Linked DNA regions of Homo sapiens: region 1 is linked to region 2. The links are contacts of gene promoters, found by promoter capture Hi-C in blood cells and fetal thymus (Javierre and others, 2016). All regions are on one chromosome and are shown on one strand. Each heading gives the region's core, a stretch centred on a gene start or on the middle of the fragment in contact. The rest is flanking DNA. Distances are from core to core; before and after follow the strand shown.

Evidence for each region. Contacts are between HindIII fragments. The CHiCAGO score rates a contact against its expected background, and 5 or more counts as called.
Region 1: a contact is called between the fragment with the promoter of SRSF6 here and the fragment with the promoter of AURKA in region 2, in 1 of 17 cell types (fetal thymus). The highest score is 8.0, in fetal thymus.

The regions. Positions count from the first base shown.
Region 1 is chr20:43,456,645-43,459,344 of GRCh38, forward strand. SRSF6 (serine and arginine rich splicing factor 6) reads left to right here and starts at 1,252. Exons shown (of 6, transcript NM_006275.6): 1 at 1,252-1,496; 2 at 1,717-1,865. The coding sequence starts at 1,390. RefSeq lists enhancers at 589-908, 969-1,128, 1,050-1,997, 1,429-1,528 and silencers at 1,669-1,768, 1,779-2,038. The HindIII fragment of the contact is 2,232 bases long and covers 132-2,363 here.
Region 2 is chr20:56,390,765-56,393,464 of GRCh38, forward strand. AURKA (aurora kinase A) reads right to left here and starts at 1,451. Exons shown (of 9, transcript NM_198437.3): 1 at 1,404-1,451. It overlaps CSTF1 (cleavage stimulation factor subunit 1), which reads left to right and starts at 1,881. Exons shown (of 6, transcript NM_001324.3): 1 at 1,881-1,949. RefSeq lists an enhancer at 1,597-1,836. The HindIII fragment of the contact is 5,454 bases long and covers 1-1,718 here.

The sequences.
Region 1 (2,700 bases), core at 2-2,501, about 13 Mb before region 2:
ATTACAGACTCGTATTTTTTATTTATCTAACTTTAAGCACGGCCTCTACCTCCCCCAGTCGTGACAAACAACGTTTCCCTCTAGACTTCCAAATAGCTCCAGGAGGACAAAACCCCCCTTTTTCAACCCGAAGCTTAAGGATATTGAGGTTGCACCACTCAAAACAGAGCAGGAATACATAAATATCTAAAGAGCTGGTGTTATCTCAGTGATATCCCTTTTTTTTTTTTTTTTTTTTTTTAGCTTCGGCGGTGACACCTACTCTCCTGGTCTTCTCCCTACCTCGCTAGTCACTCCTCCCAGTCTCCTTTCCTGCGCTTAAATTTCAGAGTACCCCAGGCGTTGGCCTGGGTCTTCCGCTCTCCACTTAAACTTACTCCTTTGAGGTTTTCAATCTGGTTCTACAGCTTTAAATAGCATCTCCATTGATAAACTCACAAAATAAGGCACTTTCAAGTCAGTGGAGGAAATGATAGTATTGGGACAAAGGACTTTCCATACACGGGAGAAAAAAAATCGTTCGTCGCTGTGGGAGGGCTGCCGGGTCTCGTCCACGCTCCCTTTTGAGCACCTACAGTGAGCGTAGGATTGCCACGGATAGCCCAATCCACAAGTGAGTCAAGCTGCCAGGGCTCCAAGAAAGACCCATGGAGGGAGAGGGGAACGTCCGGGGAGGCGAAGGCTGCGAGTGAGACCCGGAGAGGCTGATGTCGGCGGGTCTGCGCGCTCGCAACGCGACCTCCGCCCGGTCAGCAAGACCTCGGCGCGCGATCCTCAGATTCTGCGAAACAAGACAAGCGACTGGGTCCGAGACCGCGGTCCCCATCAAAACGAGCATCAACCAATCGCTGGGAGAAATCCGCAGCCTCGTTTTAAGCCACCAAGCAGAGACCGCGGCGACCTATTATGATAACCTCGAGAACCAATGAAAAACGGGGATTCGCTCAGCCCGCCTCCCGAGCTTCAACCCCGAAGAGATCGCGCACAGTTTTATAAAAGGTACAAATTAGAAAGCAGTTCTGCGGCTGGATTAGAGACATTGTGTTTTCAAAGACGGTGGGGAGGGCTAGAGAAAAATCCTAGAAGCTAGCAAGACCGCACTACACCGAAACGTCGCGGGCAACGGACTCGCCAGTCACCATCTAGCCCAGGGACGACGCGGGACGGACGTGCCGCTGCGCGCTGACATCACGCTCCAGGCCCCGCCCCACCGGCCGCCCATATAGCGAAAGCCTGGCGCGCGCGCGCGCCATTGTGTGGCTGGACTCGGCCGCCCCTGTGGTGTGAGGCGCGTGTTCGGGCTCTTGCCGTCCCCGCACCCGCACCGCGGTTACTGGCTTGCGGTCCGCCGTTCGACAACCAGCCCTTGGGTCCCCGCCCGCCACGGACATGCCGCGCGTCTACATAGGACGCCTGAGCTACAACGTCCGGGAGAAGGACATCCAGCGCTTTTTCAGTGGCTATGGCCGCCTCCTCGAAGTAGACCTCAAAAATGGGTGAGTCGGGCCTGGGCGCCCGCGCCCAGCGTCCCAGGCCTGGTGGCGGCGGGAACTCTCCAAGGAAAGAAGCGGCCAAGGCCGCGGCGCCGCGTGGCAGGGCCTCAAAGATGGCGACGGCGCGGCGTCGCGGGGGCGCGCGGTGGGGTACGGGCGCGCGCACGTGCGCGTCCTGGCTAACGACTCCCCCGCGGTTGTCCGGCCCTCGCACCGCCCCTAGGTACGGCTTCGTGGAGTTCGAGGACTCCCGCGACGCCGACGACGCCGTTTACGAGCTGAACGGCAAGGAGCTCTGCGGCGAGCGCGTGATCGTAGAGCACGCCCGGGGCCCGCGTCGCGATCGCGACGGCTACAGCTACGGAAGCCGCAGTGAGTCCCACCCCCGCGCGCTCCGCGCCCTTGGGGACCCTGGGGGCGGGGGTGGGTGGGGTGGGGCCTCCCAGCCCGGGCAGGCGCGAGGGCCGGGGGTCGTTTGACTTGGGTGTCCCCGAGCCCCGCTGCCTTCACGTCTGCCCGGGGCAGCCATGGGACGCCGGAGCGCGGGGATTGGGTTTGGGTGTTTGGTTTTGTTTATTTGCCAAGTTGGGAGGTGGGTGGCTTCTTCTGGCCCCTTGTCAGCACTGTCACGGGTTCTTCCCACAGAGGAAGTAAGGGGTGGCTGTATTTGTTGTATTCTCCTTACTTACCTATCAGTGCATTAGTTAGAGGTTCGGGGGCAGGCTCGGGTGGAGGTGGGGTAGGGGGCGCGGGGGACGGGGAAGGGGAGGAGCATAAAGTATAGGTCTTAAAGCTATGGAACTTGATGGGGGCCAAAGAATGTACTATTTTTAAGTAATGTGGTATTGTACCACAAAGTAGATCTAAATAAGCTTTATGCTGTATTTGAACTAATTGGGGCATGTTATTGGGAGGAGGTTGGGGGGATTTTTGGTTATGTTAAATGTTTGATGTTTAAATTGTTGCATGTTGAATTCAAACTTTTTAACAAGTCCTTGATGTTTCAATTTGAAAGTGACCAATGGGGCTGAGGCTGTGTCCACTGAGGCTAAGATGACTGCCTTTCCTGATTGGCCTTGGCTTTTCCATACATTGTGTGACCCTTGCCCTATGACCCTTTGGCTGACCTTACCGGAAGCCATGACGACAGCAGCCTTTTGCCATTAGACGCAGGGTGATGGTGAGGATTCCAAGGGTTAGACAAAAC
Region 2 (2,700 bases), core at 201-2,700:
AACAGTGGGTAAGTAAAAGTTGATAAACAGCAACAAGGAAATGCACACTTGTGTTAATCAAATATTTAATTTCACACATGCTCTAATGCTTTACTTCCCTTACAATTCTAAGTAGCAGTCTAATGAGATCACATAGGCCTAACAACATTTATTCAACATTCTTCTGACAGAAGCTACAGGCATTTGCTCCAATTTATTCTACCTTTCTTTCTAGGGAAATTGAATAACAAGCAGAATGGAATAAGATTCTAATCCAGAATTCTGGAGACAACGCCAAGGAGACTGCCCTTCAGGTGACTCTAATCTGCAACCAGATTGAAGAACCAGATGACTTTCACAGGATCCATTCAGTTCAAACCAGAAGTCCTACTATTTTGAATAGAAAAGCTGTTAGGCTAATAGCGCAGGAGGTTTATACGGTTTATTCCTTCCTCCCTCAGACCTGTGCATGTCTGCAGAGATGAAGGGAAGGACGAACTGAGTAGGTTGCTGAAAAACGTTTAATTCAAGGGACAAGGAAGGTTACGGAAGAGGAAGAGACATTACGAGAGTTAAGGACAGTGGCTACGTCTACCTCAGCCGGATGGTTCTTAGAAATGGAGACTCTGAGGCCTAACCCCAGGTCTAAAAAAACAGATTCTGCATTTTAACGTCCCCAGACGATTTGTATGCACCGGTCTGCATCCCTAGTTCTCAATGAAACCTAAGAATCATCTGGAGAGTTTGTTAATAACTAGACACCTGGGTCCTACCCCTCAGAGATTCTGATTTACCGGGCTCTCGGTGGAGCTATATGTTTAACAAGCACTGCAAGTTATCCCGGTACAACTGCTCCAAGGTCTACGGTCTGAGAAGTACGGACCGGGAAGGCCTCTGCAAGGAGGTTCTCATTCATCAATTCACCCACTCATCCAGCCAGGACAAGGGCCTTCTTAGGCTATTCTATCTAAAGCGGCCCCCGTTAAACCGCACTCCTGCTTTTCCTCTGTAACACCCACCCCAGCTGCAAGTTCTCCGTACGCTTACCGTCTGTCTCCCCACCCACTAGAACGTGAACTCCAACACAGCAGAGACCTTCTGTGCTTTTCTTACCCAGGTGATCTCGGAGGACAAAATCCAATCTGAAGCCCACCCACCCCTCCCGCGCATGTCAACACCACTCAACAAACCCCTTGTACCTCTAGCTGTAATAAGTAACAAGCAGTATCCTACAGGGCGCCTCGGTGCCCAGGAGCGGATGCAAAGGCGCTGGGCGGGCACAAGGCAGCGCCAAGGACACTCAGGGACGGAGGAACCGACAGGGGACTTGACGCTCCGCCACTCCGACCAGCCGCCCCTTGTCCCCGCCGTCCTCGTCCGCCACTGAGATATCCCCCACGGTCTACCCACCCGTCGGCTCCCACCTGCGACCCAAGGACCCAAGTCTTCCAAGAGCTCAGCCGTTAGAATTCAAAGGTTCTTCTTTTTAAATAGGAGTTAAACCCTCTAGCTAGAAAGCCGATTGGCCTGCGCTCGAGCGAGGCTGCCTTGTGATTGGTTGACAACAAACCCGACGCCTTGAGTCGCGTTTAAGGGCGCACACCGCGCGCAGGCGCACTTGCTCCCTAAGAACCCGGAAGTGGTGGAGCCAACGGCCAGCCAGACCTGTGGCAGTCCCAGCCCCAGGGTGCTCTCCGCGGTCGGCCATTTATCGGTGAAGCAACAGCCCCTTGACGTCAAGCTTGACGCATTGGAGATAAAGTCCAAGGAGGTGAACTAACCTTTGAACGTGCCAGTAAGTAAGATGGCGAGAAAAGCAAGAGAGAGTGGGACCGATCGATAGCGCAGCGGTCGGCTTGGCGCCCTTTCAGCGTGCGCAGTGAACGTGCGCTCGGAGCGGTAGATTGGGCAGGATTCGCGCCTCCATTTTTCCAGGAGAGAGCGGGATACCAAGAGAACCGGACCAGCTGGTACTGGGACACGGGGAGAGTAGCTGGTGCGGTCGGCTGGGGCATTTAGAGAAAACCACAGAAACGACTGGGGCGAGACTGGAAGAGTCGAGAGTTAGCAAGGTGGCATGCGCCTCTACTTTGCGTTTCCTAAGTTGCCCGGCTTGGCCTGCACCCCTTCCTCTTCTCGAAGGGCCTCGCTTCCATTCCCACCCAGTCCTTAGTTCGCCTCTGCATCCAGATGGTCGCGGCGCATATAGTGAGGGGGCATCTGTGTTCTAGCCTTTCCAACTGCGATGTATCCGGTCCTGGATCGGGTTCTTGTCCTCGTGTGCTCACCTGCAAATTGGGGATAATTAGGCTTCTGTTTACCTGGCGAGTGAACGTTCTGTGGGAGTTGAGAAGTTAGGGGTGGGCCACTTAAAATATATATATATATACACACACACACACATATACATATATATACACACACATATGTGTGTGTGTGTGTGTGTATGTACACCCGGGATGTGCTCAGCAGAAGTGAAGAGACCGGATAGAACAGTGGTGTAGGGGAACCAAAAATGGCTTCCCTCCATCCTTCCAGGTACCTTATTAGGACTAAGAGTTAAATTCACATAAGACGAATTAACAGATTACTGCAGGGTAAACAGGATGTGCATGTAAAGCATTGAGCTAGCATACGGAAATTATTCGAGTCATATTAACCCAACGTTAACAGTAGAATCTCTCATCAACTTTTCTTTGCCAGACTACCCACTTGTGATTT